4 separate regions of the Homo sapiens genome follow, and all the other regions are linked to region 1. Evidence: promoter capture Hi-C in human tissues and cell types (Jung and others, 2019). All regions are on one chromosome and are shown on one strand. The core of a region is centred on a gene start or on the middle of the fragment in contact, and the rest is flanking DNA. Distances in the headings are between cores, read along the strand shown.

Region 1 (3,674 bases), core at 625-3,124:
TGCATTTTTAGTAGAGATGGGGGTTTCACCATGTTGGCCAGGCTGGTCTAGAACTCCTGACCTCAGGTGATCTGCCCACCTGGGCCTCCTAAAGTGCTGGGATTACAGGCATGAGCCACCAGGCCCGGCCTTAAAATTCTTAATAATGTAACAAAGGGTCTCACGTTTGCATTTTGCAGTGGACTCTGCAAGATTTGTAGCTTTGGACCACGTTTCTCTTTGCATTCAGATACCTTCTTTTTTGCCTTATTTGCTCATGCAGACCCGGAACAAATACGGAATTGCGGTGGGTAAATGTGGTGCAGAAAGTGAACAACTGGGTTTGTCCTGTCACTTTAGGCTTTTCCCTGCTGTCCCAGCTTCATGTCACTTACTTGCTATTAGATTTGGGAGTTCATTAGCTTCATTTTCCTGATGTATAAATAGGAATAATAGTAACAGCCTCTTTGGCTTTTGTAGGAAGTAAATGACATGAAGCGTATAAACAAATACTGCATGACAATAAATATTTGTCCTTATTTGTTGAGGACATCCAAAGGACATTCAGGGGCAAAAGTAATCCAAGAGTCAAGACTGAATGCCTAGTGCGGGAAAAGACACACAAGACAACATTTAGGGGAGCTGGTACAGAAATGACTTCCCAGGAAGGAAGTCTGTACCCCGCTGGCTGAGCCATCCTTCCCGGGCCTAGGCACCCTTGTCAGCGCAATGAGCAAGGGAGAGAAGGCAGGCTGCAGTGCAGCCCTCAGAAGGGCCAGAGCACTCCCTGGCTTCAGTCCTTCGCTCCAAGCCCTGTGTGGAGTGGGCTGTGGCTTGGTAACTAAATGCTACTTCAGGTCAAGAGCAGGGGATATATCTGGGCAGTTCTAGAGCATTCTAAACTATCTGGACACTAACTGGACAGTGGACGGTTTGTGTTTAATCCAGGAGAAAGTGGCATGGCAGAAGGTTCATTTCTATAATTCAGGACAGACACAATGAAGAACAAGGGCAGCGTTTGAGGTCAGAAGTCCTCATTTACGGGGGTCGAATACGAATGATCTCTCCTAATTTTTCCTTCTTCCCCAACTCAGATGGATGTTACATCCCTGCTTAACAACAAAAAAAGACCCCCCGCCCCGCAAAATCCACACTGACCACCCCCTTTAACAAAACAAAACCAAAAACAAACAAAAATATAAGAAAGAAACAAAACCCAAGCCCAGAACCCTGCTTTCAAGAAGAAGTAAATGGGTTGGCCGCTTCTTTGCCAGGTCCTGCGCCTTGCTCCTTTGGTTCGTTCTAAAGATAGAAATTCCAGGTTGCTCGTGCCTGCTTTTGACGTTGGGGGTTAAAAAATGAGGTTTTGCTGTCTCAACAAGCAAAGAAAATCCTATTTCCTTTAAGCTTCACTCGTTCTCATTCTCTTCCAGAAACGCCTGCCCCACCTCTCCAAACCGAGAGAAAAAACGAAATGCGGATAAAAACGCACCCTAGCAGCAGTCCTTTATACGACACCCCCGGGAGGCCTGCGGGGTCGGATGATTCAAGCTCACGGGGACGAGCAGGAGCGCTCTCGACTTTTCTAGAGCCTCAGCGTCCTAGGACTCACCTTTCCCTGATCCTGCACCGTCCCTCTCCTGGCCCCAGACTCTCCCTCCCACTGTTCACGAAGCCCAGGTGGGCCGTCGGCCGGGGAGCGGAGGGGGCGCGTGGGGTGCAGGCGGCGCCAAGGGCGCGTGCACCTGTGGGCGCGGGGCGCGAGGGCCCCTCCCGGCGCGAGCGGGCGCAGTTCCCCGGCGGCGCCGCTAGGGGTCTCTCTCGGGTGCCGAGCGGGGTGGGCCGGATCAGCTGACTCGCCTGGCTCTGAGCCCCGCCGCCGCGCTCGGGCTCCGTCAGTTTCCTCGGCAGCGGTAGGCGAGAGCACGCGGAGGAGCGTGCGCGGGGGCCCCGGGAGACGGCGGCGGTGGCGGCGCGGGCAGAGCAAGGACGCGGCGGATCCCACTCGCACAGCAGCGCACTCGGTGCCCCGCGCAGGGTCGCGATGCTGCCCGGTTTGGCACTGCTCCTGCTGGCCGCCTGGACGGCTCGGGCGCTGGAGGTGGGTGCCGCGCCTCGGAAGGCGGGGGGAGGCTGCACGGTGGGGACGCGATACCCCCCAAGACCTTAACCCAAGTCTTTAATGCAGAGAAGCCGGGGGTCCGTCAATGGGACCCCTCTCCTCTCCGCCCCCGCTTGCGGACGTCCAGCGCATCCCCGCTTTCGGCCCAGCCCTGCCCCAGGGAGTCGCGCTCCGGCCCGCTGAGAGGGAGCGGGCGAGGCGCTGGTCTCCCTGGTTCCGCGCCAGCCCGGGGCGAGAAGGGTAGGGGGCGACCCTGAGCCCAGACCCCGACTTAGTCCCTGCCTTGGAAGCGGGGGTCGGGGGAGGCGAGAGACATTCAGACAGGGGGGAAGGGGGAAGGAGCACGTGGGGAAAACCGAAAACGCAGCGTCCCTAAAGCCAGTCCTTCGCTCTTGAATCGTTGCCCTTTCCTTTCTCTTGGGCCCTGGGGAGGAGGAGGAGGAGTCGGGACAGCCCAGGAAGCTAGGAGCCCCTCGCTTTTCCCTGCGTTCTCCGCCTCGTTTCACCTTCCTCTCTCACCCCCATCCCCCTTCCTTGCTCCAACCTCTTTTCGCGGCTGCTGGCGGCGGCAGCCTGGGTGCGACCCTAGCCCGAGCCGGCGTCGGGGTCGCGCACCGCCTTCCACAGGCAAACTTTGTGCATGTCCGCGTCTCCCTTTTGTGTAACTTGCGAGAAATGGGAGGGGTCGGAGACCCATAGCCACCCCGCGCCTTCCCCAAGTCTGGACGTCCCGGGAGTTCGCTCGCACCCTAAGCTCTGTCTGAGAGGCAGAAGGTCCGCGGGAACAAAAGCCGCGACACCCCGCCCTCGCCGTGGGCCGAGCCGCGTTAGTCTCAGTGCGCCACCGAGGCTCCCGCCCGGCTCCCTTCCCGGGGCTGCGCGTCCGCCTGGGAGGGGGCAGAGACGCTGCCGGGGCTTCTGGCGGAGCCTCGGGGCCCCTCTGCTTCCCACCCTCGGATCACCTCCGAGGCTTAATTCTGTGCTGGGCTGTAAAGTCCTTGGCGGGGAGGAAATAAGGCGGAGAGTGGGATGTGCGTCTGGAAAGGGCAGTGGCGGATGGTGGGGAGGCACGGGCTCTGTCCTGTGCATCCAAGGAGGCGTTTGTCTGATTAAGGCGCGGCCTCTTCCCTGGCAGCTCTGGGGACTCTGGTTTAGTTCCCCTGGGGGCACAGGATGCTGGGGAGGGTCCGAAGGGTCTTTTTTTTAGGGTGCAGATAAAAGGATCGAATTGAGTGAAGATTAAGACGGAGAAGATGGCGCCTCTGCAGTGCAGCAAAGAAAAGCTGTGTGGAGGCTGCAGCCTAGTGAAATCCACCCACCACTAGGTGTATAACAAGTCTTCCCCATTCATCCAACTCTCGAACATTCAGCTAACGCCTGTGCACAATGACTGTTTTTCTTTACATCTGAAGATGCTTAGAAGTTGTTTGCATGACAGTTGGGCCAGAGGAGGCTGTATTTCACTTCGGACTTCGGTTGGGTTCCTGTTTGGCATCTTAACATTTGCAACCTTCCTTACCCGTTTTTCCCCTCTTTTCCCCCAGCCTCCTAGTAATTTTCCAAAAGAAAAAAA
Region 2 (3,674 bases), core at 759-3,258, 230 kb before region 1:
GCCGGCATCATGCCTCCTGTACAACCTGCAGAACACTACGACAATTAAATCTCCTTTCTTTATAAATTACCCAGACTCAGGTATTTTAAAGAAATTGCAAGCAAACCTCTACTCCACAATTCCCTTTTAGGTCAACCGTATCAATGCCAATTACCTAATTATAGGATTTTCTCTGAGACAAGATGATTTATTGTGTTCTGCAATGCGATCAGACATATTCAGCCTCTGAAGTTAAAACTTGGGATATCCATGTGTGGGATATTCATACGTGCTGTTCTAGCAATGCAAGAGCAGCCTAATACACATATGGACAATTTTTAGACCTCTTGTCAAACAAATTTGAGAGACATCACTACTGTCTAGCTTTGATTTTCTACAAATTATGCTAACTAGGAATCTAAAATAAATTGAGTGCTGTGGCTCCAGTGGCACAATTGGTTAGCACGCGGTACTTATAAAGTGAATTGAAGTTCTACATTTCTTTTCTGTCACAATACCTTCTGTGAGGGAGGGGGCATGGAATTTCATGGTTGAAATTTATGCTTTCCATCATGTTTTCCCTACCTCTGAAAGAGATATTATCCTGCACAAATAAAGATTGGAAGGAAACTGTCAATACTTGGAAGACCACCAATTAACCACCTCAGCTAATAAATAGAGAAGGCACCTGGATATTTGGGGTTTGCCCCACCCCCCACGCCAGATTCGCTTTCCAACCTTCGCTATCCTCCTTTGAAATCCAAGACTTCAACTTCTAGGGACTGCACCAACAAGCTTCCTTGCCCTCCAGCTTTCAGTTTGGCCAATGGAAGATACTTGCCAGGAAATTGAAAGTTTAGTGCAGAATGATGTAAGCACTTTTATTCCAACAGCAACCTTCCTGGCAAGTCATCACAAGCTGGCTCTGGCCTTCCACCCAAGGACACTCTTCTTATTGGATGGCCCTCTTAATGCAGCCACTCTATGTTCCAGTCACTAACTGCTTCCTCCCCCTGCCCCTCAGCACTCCAGCTTTTGCTGACTCCAAAGTACTGCACTATTCTTTGATGTAATACTGCACTTAACCCCACCCACATGATTGTAAACAATCCCTTTGTTGAACTCTCTTCTCTGATCCTTTTTGAGCATTTTGTTTTCTGCTTGGTCACTGGGGAAAACAATAAGACACCCTAAGTTGGCTAACATCAGAATTGAAAACATTTCTTACTTGAAAAAAACGTAATGTGGTAAAAAATATTTAAGTAATTCTTATGGTATCGGATTACTTAGTGATATGGTTTGGCTCTGTATCCCCACCCAAATCTCATCTCGAACTGTAATCCCCACGTATTGTGGGAAGGACTTAGTGGGAGGTGATTGGATCATGGGGACAGTTTCTCCATGCTGTTCTCATAATAGTGAAGGAGTTCGCAGGAGATCTGATGGTTTTAAAGTGTGGCACTTTCCCTTCTTTCTCTCTCCTGCCACCTTGTGAAGATGTGCCTTGCTTCCCTTCACCTTCCTCCGTAATTGCAAGTTTCCTGAAGCCTCCTCAGCCATGTGGAACTGGGAGTCAATTAAACTTCTTTTGTTTAAAAATTACCCAGTGTCAGGTAGTATCTGTATAGCAATGTGAGAATGGACGAATACACTTAGTAACTCCTATATGCATTGCCCATTGATTCTTCAGTTATATTGTCATTCAATCATTGCTTTATTTATTCCACAACCAGTTACTGATCACCTACTAAGACTGATGCTCTGCAAGCTACAGTAACCACATAAGGTACATGACTATTGTGTCATGTACTACATCATACATTTCTTCCTATGGACAGCTTCCAACTTACCTTTGAACAATAATTGTAGGCAAATGAAGATGCTGAAGAATGGAGGGAAAACATTCTGACCTCTGACAGGGACTGAAGTGAGAAAACCCATGAATTATAAGGAAATGAAAAGTGACTTAAAAGACTAGTTTTCTTACACTAAGCAACTGAAGTCCCACTCTGGAGAGGGCTCAGTGAAGAGGGTGATCAGTCCTTTGTACAGAAATGTCTATACCCTAGAAGATGCCTGGTAGCTAAGTAGATATTCTTGAATCTGTGCTAAAAATTGGAGTGAAAGAGTCCCAAAAGCTTTGAAAACAATTTTCCAGGCTGTCCTAGCTAAGGGGCATGTCATTCAACAGTGACTAGTCAATTTAGTGAAAGTCAGTCACACACAGTTTGATATTCTCAAGACTAAAAAAACCAACTGCGTGACTGAATTTTTTATTTTTCAAGGTAGTCGTTATTGAAGGAACCTGAATTTTTCATATGATTGTTTTTAGAATAACACTGATGTTGAAATTTTGCATTATTCTTTCTGCTGCAGACATCTTGAAACAGAAAAATAAACACTGCAGAGTAGAAAAGTCTTCAGGGCAAAAGTCTGGCTTAGGGTACCTCCTAAAAAATATCTATAAGTGGCCAGGTGCAGTGGCTCACGCCTGTAATCCCAGCAGTTTGGGAGACCAAGGCAGGTGGATCACGAGGTCAAGAGACTGAGACCATCCTGGCCAATATGGTGAAACCCCATCTCCAGGAAAAATACAAAAATTAGCTGGCTGTGATGGCACGCACTTCTAATCCCAACTATTCAGGAGGCTGAGGCAGGGGAATCGCTTGAACCCAGGAGGTGGAGTTTGCAGTGAGCCCAGATCGTGCCGTTGCAGTCCAGCCCGGGAGACAGAGTGAGACTCTGTCTCAAAAAAAAAAAAAAAAAAAAAAAAAAAAAAAAAATATATATATATATATATATATATATATATATACACACACACACGTATATATATATATACACATATGTATATATATATACATATATATACACATATATATACACATATATAAGCTTTATCTCACTATATTGCTATATTTCTGAATCATAACTAAATGCTTTTTCAAAAAAAATGTATTCTTTAAATGAAAGGAGTTGAAAAAATGTTGATATAATCAAGGAAAGCTATTGAGTTTAAGATAAGCAGAGAGCGTGGCCTTCATCCTTAATCCCCACCACCTGATCCAGTTCCTGGTGGTTTCATAAAGTTTGTTGAATGACTTTTTTAAAAAAGCAGAAGTTATTTGTAGATGGCAATAATCCCATCTAAGAGTCTGAAGAGACATTTGACAGAGCCATGGAGCAGTATAGCAAATACTTAGGAAATGGTAGGTCCACATAATGTAAATTTACTTGAAGTCATATTAGGTGGAGATCTGTAAGCTTATTTTGAAATATAAAGATTTGATTATATTTTTGTGAAATACAGTCTTATTTCTATCATATGCTCATCTTCATCATACCTGCCATTTGCATTTTGACATCATGATGGGGAACAGGAAGCGGTAATCGGCCTCAGGCACAAATTTACCTCCAGGTGAAGTGAGAGGGATGACCATTTGCTTGGCTCACTTGGTTACACTTAGGGAATAGGGATTTGGGAGAGTTTGGGAACCACAGAGCCATTCTTTCTGAGGACTCTTCCCTGGTGCTGCCAGATTTCAGGGTTTGAGGTTCACAACACAAGACGCTTGTGATCTTCTCTCTCCTTCCCATTCTGACATTCCAGTATGGGGCACTGTTTGTTGGCTGGTCTCTGTTAAATACAAGGATTCCTCCATAGGGTAAGAAATTTGAGGGTGAAGTAGATTCCC
Region 3 (3,674 bases), core at 738-3,237, 210 kb before region 1:
AACCAGTCATTCCTCAATCTCTCATCCTCTCCTCAGGCCTCCCTCTTCTCTGACACATAGCAATACTGAAATTAGGCCAGTTAATAACCCTACAATGGCCTCTATATGTTCAAGTGAAAGAAAGAGTCACATGTCTCTCACTTAAAATCAAAAGTTAGACATGATTAAGCTTAGTGAGAAAGTCATGTGGAAAACAGAGATAGGCTAAAAGCTTGGCCTCTTGCATCAAACAGCCAAGTTGTGAATGCAAAGGAAAAGCTCTTGAAGGAAATTAAAAGTGCTACTCTGGTGAACACATGAATGATTAAAAAAAAGTGAAGTAGCATATTATTGATATGTAGAAAGTCTGAGTGGTATGGATAGAAGCTCAAACCACCACAACAGTCCCATAAATCAAAGCCTAATCCAGTTGAAAGCTCTCAGCAGCAAGATTCGACCCTCTTTGAGCAAAAAAAAATTCCAACTCACTGAAGGCCCAGATAATTGTTAGCACTGTTTACCAATAAAGTATTTTTTAATTGAGGTATGCTTTTTTTTTTTTTTTTTTTTTGAGACAGAGTCTCACTCTGTCACCCAGGCTGGAGTGCAGTAGTACAATCTTGGCTTACTGCAACCTTTACTCCCAGGTTCAAGTGATTCTCCTGCTTCAGCCTTCCAAGTACCTGGGGTAAATTACAGGTGCACACCACCATGCTCAGCTAATTTTTTTTTGCATTTTTAGTAGAGATGGGGTTTCGCCATGTTGGCGAGGCTAGTCTCAAACTCCTGACCTTAGGTGATCCACCCACCTTGGCCTCCCAAAGTGCTGGGATTACAGGCATGAGCCACCATGCCCAGCTGAGTATGCATATTTTTTAGACATAATGCTATTGCACACTTAATAGACAATAGCATAGTGTAAACACAACTTTTATTTGCATTGGGAGACCAAAAAATTTCCACGACTTGCTTCATTGCAACACCCGCTTTATTGTGGTGGGCTGGAAATGAATTTGCAGTATCTCTGAGTTAGGCTTGTATGGAAAAACCAGGGGCATGAATTAGAATGAAGTGGCAATGGTAGGCTCCCCAACCCACCAAGGAGATATCAGAGTTAGCGCTGCAGCCCACATCCTACCTAAACCCCCGTTGGGTCACATAGGAAGGGCAATTACTGATAGGGTTACAAAAGGAGGCTCTTGTCAAGCACATCAGTGTCCATTTGCCTCTGGGTGCTGGAACATCAAGAATGGCAACCCGAAGAATATTTCCAGATCCCCTGGCCTACTGACTGGCAGACAACCAAAAGATACTTATGATAAGTTAGTTAGAAAGCAGAATGAATGCCACGGATGAAACAGAAATAATACAAAGTCTCAGGACTTACTGATTTTTGTGTATTATGAGTAAATCAGGTCAATCTTAGAGTATGCTTCACTCTAGCAAGATCAAGTGTTCAAATGCAAATTGGCTTTCAATGAAACTAAAATGGGCTCAAAATAGATCAGATTAAAAACCATTTTTTCACTAAAAAATTGGATGATAAAACCAAAGGCCATGCCAGTGCTGCTCACTGCTTTCCGATGAATGAACCATCAATTTATTCATCTGATAAATATTTGTTGAACAAATAACATGTGATAAGCACTGTTCTAGGCACTGATGAACCAGACACAAGAGCTATCCTAATGGGGCGAGGGTCATGGAACGTGAGCAAGAAAAATGCAAAATAATTCCAGAGAACGACTGTCACAGGGAGATAATAAAGTGGGTTCCTGTGATAGAGAATGACTGTGGAGGGGAAGTGGGGTACTTCTTTCAGCAAAGTGGTCAGGAAAGGTCTTTTGGAGAAGGGGTAGTGTTTGACTGAGACCTGAGTGGTGGAAAGAGGGTAGCAGGGGAACAGAGACCAAGCAGAGGAGCAAGCTGGATCTGCTGTTAGGGATCAAGCACTATATATGCTTGATGAACTGGTTGTAGGCCCAAGATATCTCAGTCTTTATGATTTAATTTGCCCTAAAGGCTTCATGTTCACCTAAGAGACAGAGATAATGACCTGGAGAAAAAGAGAACCACTGAGGAGGACTATACCGTGTCTGTTATCCAGCCTGGGTGCAGAGACCACTCCTGCAAGAAATGAATGGAGCTGCAACAGGCCAAAGATGGAGGAAGGCACTGTTTTCACAAGGGGCCCCTGAGACTAAGGTCCAGGGGACAAAGCACATTTCCAAGCAGAGGAGGGGTCTACCCCCATTTCTTTAAGAAGCCCAGTGTGATTCAGGCTCATTGTGCACAAAAGGAGGAAACAACACTATTTTTACACCTTGAAAGCTTCAGAAAGTGCAGATATCAGCATATTTATAGAGAACTGCACCATTGAGATGGTGCAAAGTGTAACTCTCAGGGGCCCTGGGAAGGAAGAGACTCCCTGAATGAGCCTGGGTGGAGGAGCAGAAGAAGACTTTTCACAAGCACATATAAGACATTCCATTTCCTAGGTGTATTTTGTGTCTACATGCAACATGGATGAGTCAGAAAAGTGTGAGATGTGTCACCATATTCCCAGGCATAAAATCCCCTAGAATGTCACCCTCTTCTCCTAATCTTCCCTTCACCTTTTTGTTCCCCCGAGGATATGGTTTTCTTTGCTTCCCTCTTTAGCGATGGCTATTTTCCCTCCTAGGTCTGGAGGTGGAGTAGGTGGCCTTGTTGCTCTTTATTGCCCCTTTCAGAGAATTCTCCCTCCCTCTTCCCTATACCCTCCCCAACCTTAAGGCTCATATCATTGCTGTTATAAACTGAATCATGTCCCCCACCCTCAAATTCATATGCTGAAGTCCTAACTCCCAGTACCATAGAATGTGATTTGGATATGGGATATTTAAAGAGGTGGTTAAGGTTAAATGAGATGATTAGAGTGGGCCTTACTCCAATATTACTCATGTCCTTATAAGAAGAGGAGATTAGGACACAAACATACACAGAGGAAAGATCCTGGGAAGAAAAGGGGAGAAGACAGCCATCTACAAGTCAAGGAGAAAGGTCCCAGAAGGAACCAACCCTGCCAACACCTAGATCTTGGACTTCTAGACTCCAGAACTGTGAGAAAATAAATGTCTGTTGTTTAAGCCACCTAGCCTGTGGTATTTGTTAAGGCAGCCCCAGCAGACTAATACAATCAGACAGCAATCCTTCCTTGTTGCTGTTGTCTGCAGCCCTCTTTGAAGATCTTATTTTTTGATTGAGTCCTGTTGCTGTCTCCTACATGACCTCTGTCATTAATCCTTGGTGATTGATTTCTATGTGTGTAAGCTTTCCAACACCTTGGCCTCTCAGTTCCTGGTTCATCATTCTGGCCCAGCCATCCACTCCCATGGTCATAGCACCAAGCAAACTCTCCAACTCATGTCCATGAGGTGTTGAGCTCTTTGGCCCCTCACAGATGCTGAGCAGGATGGGAGCACCTAAAGCCCCCAGCCAGATATGCTATATAAATATTTTCACTTTCTATATGCACCACAATAGAAAAAAAAATACTAGAAGGCACTGCCCTAGGTCTTGTGATTGCCAATAACAACACTCCACTCACAATCTCACTTCAACAATCACTTTTCTTCCAATCACCATCTCCCATCATTACCAACCCCCTTCTCTAGTTATTTACATCCAGAAATGTTTGACTCCATTGAGACCTA
Region 4 (3,674 bases), core at 722-3,221, 180 kb before region 1:
ATAAGGTCATAAGGACGAGGCCCTAATCGAATAGGATTGGTGTTCTTATAAGAAAAAGAGGAAGCAGAGTTCTCTCTCACCACAACGTGAGGACACAGTGAGAAGGCACTCATCTGCAAGCCAGGAAGAAGGCCTTCAGCAAGGAACTGAATCTGCAAGATCTTGATTGATATTGAACTTTTCAGCCTCCAGAAAGTTCTGCATGCTGGGGAGGCCTCAGGAAACTTACAGTCATGGCGGAAGTAGAAGGAGAAGCAAGAACCTTCTTCATAAGCAGCAGGTTATGCTGCTTGCCCTCCTTTAGGGAGATATTCTCCTTTAGGGAAATATTTCTCATCCAGACTATGGACCAGATGACTATGGACCAGATGAAATCTCATTGCTCTACTTTTAGCGACCCTACTTTTAGACACATGGGAATGGCCAGTCAGTCATGTTATTGTAAAGCAAAGAGAAGTCATTTCATTTTAGTTTAATTTTATTTATTTATTTATTTTGCTAATTGGGGAAGTATAAATCTAGGACTGCTGTTGACTTCCTGTTCATAGCTGGAAAGAATGTGGCTAAAACAAAGAGAAGCAGAGACGACTGCAATTGTGCCCAGTTCTAGTTCTGTCCCTATCTTCAGTGAGCCATCTCAACATCTGTAATGGATGATATTATTGTTCACAATTATCTCTTGTCCTCTCTGTAAGAGGACCTATATCCCTCCTATGGTCATGTCACTGGCAGCACCTCCCTGTGGAAGGAGATACTTCTCTCACCCTTTGACAGACAGCATGCGTGGCCATATGGTTTGCTTTAATTGATAGAATATGGGCAGAAGGAATATATGATACGCCCAAGTAGAGACCATAAGATCCATCAGCTTGTTCTATGATTATTTTTTTCCTCTTCCACAAGTCTGAGATAGGGGCTGCTCCTTCAAACTGTGCCCCAGAATGAGAAGATATGTGGAGGAGAGCTAAAGCCAAAATGTAACATGAACAATAAACAAAGCTTTGTTATTGTAAAACAAAAACTCTTTCTGAAAAATTCCTTTCTCTCTGTCTTTCTCTCACTCTCTCTCTCTCTCTCTCTGTGTGTCTGCCAGAAGAAGGTTCCACTAGGTTTCTAGCCTTATAACTGAAAGCATTCTAATTATCCTGTGACTAATAGATATTCTTTAGTCCATGACTAATAAATACAACTTGACAACACATTTACAAAGCATATTACCAAGGTCAACATGTGTAAACAAGTATACATTGAACTAGGCTATCCCAGAAGAGGTTGTTTTAATGGCTAATAACAAATTATATTCAATATTAAACATACGTTCAGAGATGCTAAACAAGTTTTCATAGTCACACTAGTTTGTTCCTTCTAATGCTCATATTTAAATTATTTGCTAGTGTTTTTCCTAAGCCTCCTATAGTCAAATACAATAATTATTATTTCAACTTCTTTAAATGTTTCCTTTAATGTATTTTTACTACAAATGTTTCTTTCTACAATTTAATAAAATTTAGTTCATTGCTCAGAGTTGTTAAATTTACTTTGGACATGCAGTATTATTTGTTTTGTTTTATGTTAAAATTGAAGCACAGTAACATTTTTCATATGTTTAGATACATAGTGAAATGATGAAAAGTCTGTATTTCCGTTAGCTAATATGTTGCAGTCTACTAGTGCATATCCATGTCTGATTTTCCTCACCTTCCTGTAAACACAAGAAGACCACTCTTCCCAACAACCTTGCAGTTAGAACTAAATGACTACCTCTGGTTCAGCGGTTTTCAACCAAAAGCAATTTTTCCATTCACTGCTGCCCTCACCCCAACCTCTAGAGATATCTTTGGTTATCACAGCCAGAGGGGACACCTCTGGTATCTGGTGTATAGACACCAGGGATGCTGGCATGCATCCTGCAGTGCAAGGAGAGTCCCCCAAAACAAATTATTCACCCCAGCCATAGTTGAGAAACCTGGTTCTAGGCAGTGAAAACTAAGTAGAAGAAATTCAGGTCAGCTCCAGGCTGAGACATTCAAGAACCTATCTTCTCTATAACAGGCAACTGTAGAAACCATGTGTTGAAATGGAAATACCACAAGAAGCAAGTGACCTCACCTCTCATCACAGAGAAAGAGGTCATCACACAGAGAGAGGAGCTACTCTGAAAAGCTCCCTGAGCCTTAACAGAATTTATATGATCATTACATAAATCTGCTTTTGTCTTTAACCTTCATTGTATGTCTTAAACCAGATTCCAGGGCTAATTTTTCATAGAAGCCTAACCTATTCTATCCTTACTAATATAGTTAGTTTTATAAATTTTCACTTATATGCAATAAATATAGTACTTTTTTTAAATGCCAGATGTATTACTCCATTTTCACACTGCTGATAAAGACATACCTAAGACTGGGCAATTTACAAAAGAAAGAGGATTATTGGACTTACAGTTCCACATGGCTGGGAAGGCTTCACAATCAAGGCGGAAGGCAAGGAGGAGCAAGTCACATCTTACATGGATGGCAGTTGGCAATAAAAGAGCTTGTGCAGGGCAACTCCACTTTTAAAACAAGCAGATCTCATAAGACCCATTCACTATCATGAGAACAGCATGAGAAAGATCTGTCCCCATAATTCAATCATCTCCCACCAGGTTCCTCCCACAAAAGGTGGGAATTATGGGAGCTACAAGATGAGATTTTGGTGGGGACACAGAGCCAAACCATATCACCAGGTAATATCATATACATAGCATCAAATAGCTTTTAAATATAACTTACTTCTTAGGCAAATTTCTTTTACTATTCCGGTTATTAATATATGCTGAAGATAGAGATGACATTATTCAAGCAAAAGCAGGATTTGAAGAATGTATTTTAAAGACCAGTTGGCAATACACTCAATAAATCCTCAGAATGTAGAACATAATTATATGTGTGTCAGAAGAGGGGATCACCCGGGTCTGAAAATGACACTGAGAAACTATAACTTCCAAGGGGGGTAGAATGTTTTTCCCCAAAAGTTATAAGAATGTGAAATAAGAGGTTTAAAAATGATTTTTTTTCCTCAACAGAGTGAAAAACAGAGTTGATCCCATGCTTCATTTCACAGCTGCCTAGCTACAGTGAGTGATATATGTTTCTAACACAATGGATGGTGGCTTAGGAAGAGGATCCAATAAAATCTATGTTGGAGCCAAGAATAAAATCCAAGGAAAATGCCTCTAGTTAATCGTTCTAATCAATTCCCCCTGTGCGCCAGAGAAGGGCTCACATTTAAACCCAGTATTATTATAGGTATTTAGATTAGTCAAGAGCAGTGCTATAAGGACGAGAATCCCAAAATTTTAATTTAAAGCCATGGGTTTCCTAATTTAAAAATATTTTCCACTTTTTTTTCTTCTCAAAGTCATAACAATAATTTGTAAAGCTTTCAAGTCATGCTTCAAAATTTTCAACGACCACCTTTTTACGAGACGAAAAGTTGTGTGAAAAGGTACCGAAACGCAAATAAGAGATGTGAGTTCAACTGTGATCACTTCAGTGTGCACAATATTGTCAAGTTCCAAAATGATGATACCTGCAGTAACTATGTATTTAACTTTATATTTTCCCAGTAGAGACGTTTAATTGCCAAGGAAGCAATTAAAACCAGAACTCACATTTCCCATATTTTTAAAA

What was found. The method cuts DNA at HindIII sites, captures the fragments that hold promoters and counts their contacts. A contact is called where the count stands out against the background at its distance.
Region 2: a fragment that was not itself captured here is called in contact with the fragment with the promoter of APP in region 1 in 2 of the 25 tissues and cell types used here (dorsolateral prefrontal cortex and heart left ventricle).
Region 3: a contact is called between a fragment that was not itself captured here and the fragment with the promoter of APP in region 1, in 2 of the 25 tissues and cell types used here (mesenchymal stem cells and mesendoderm cells).
Region 4: a contact is called between a fragment that was not itself captured here and the fragment with the promoter of APP in region 1, in 2 of the 25 tissues and cell types used here (hippocampus and lymphoblastoid cells).

What each region holds. Positions count from the first base shown.
Region 1 is chr21:26,168,970-26,172,643 of GRCh38, reverse strand. It overlaps APP (amyloid beta precursor protein), which reads left to right and starts at 1,874. Exons shown (of 18, transcript NM_000484.4): 1 at 1,874-2,080. The coding sequence starts at 2,024. APP-DT (APP divergent transcript) reads right to left here and starts at 1,777. Exons shown (of 4, transcript NR_186396.1): 1 at 1,592-1,777. RefSeq lists silencers at 1,522-2,351, 2,852-3,121 and enhancers at 2,139-2,663, 3,162-3,371. The HindIII fragment of the contact is 4,835 bases long and covers 1-3,674 here.
Region 2 is chr21:26,395,066-26,398,739 of GRCh38, reverse strand. It overlaps a transcript of CYYR1-AS1 not described here. Among named protein-coding and RNA genes, the nearest start is that of CYYR1-AS1, 9.0 kb to the left of the region's middle. The HindIII fragment of the contact is 3,858 bases long and covers 80-3,674 here.
Region 3 is chr21:26,376,148-26,379,821 of GRCh38, reverse strand. No RefSeq gene overlaps it. Among named protein-coding and RNA genes, the nearest start is that of CYYR1-AS1, 28 kb to the left of the region's middle. The HindIII fragment of the contact is 3,594 bases long and covers 191-3,674 here.
Region 4 is chr21:26,349,321-26,352,994 of GRCh38, reverse strand. No RefSeq gene overlaps it. Among named protein-coding and RNA genes, the nearest start is that of CYYR1-AS1, 55 kb to the left of the region's middle. The HindIII fragment of the contact is 5,857 bases long and covers 1-3,674 here.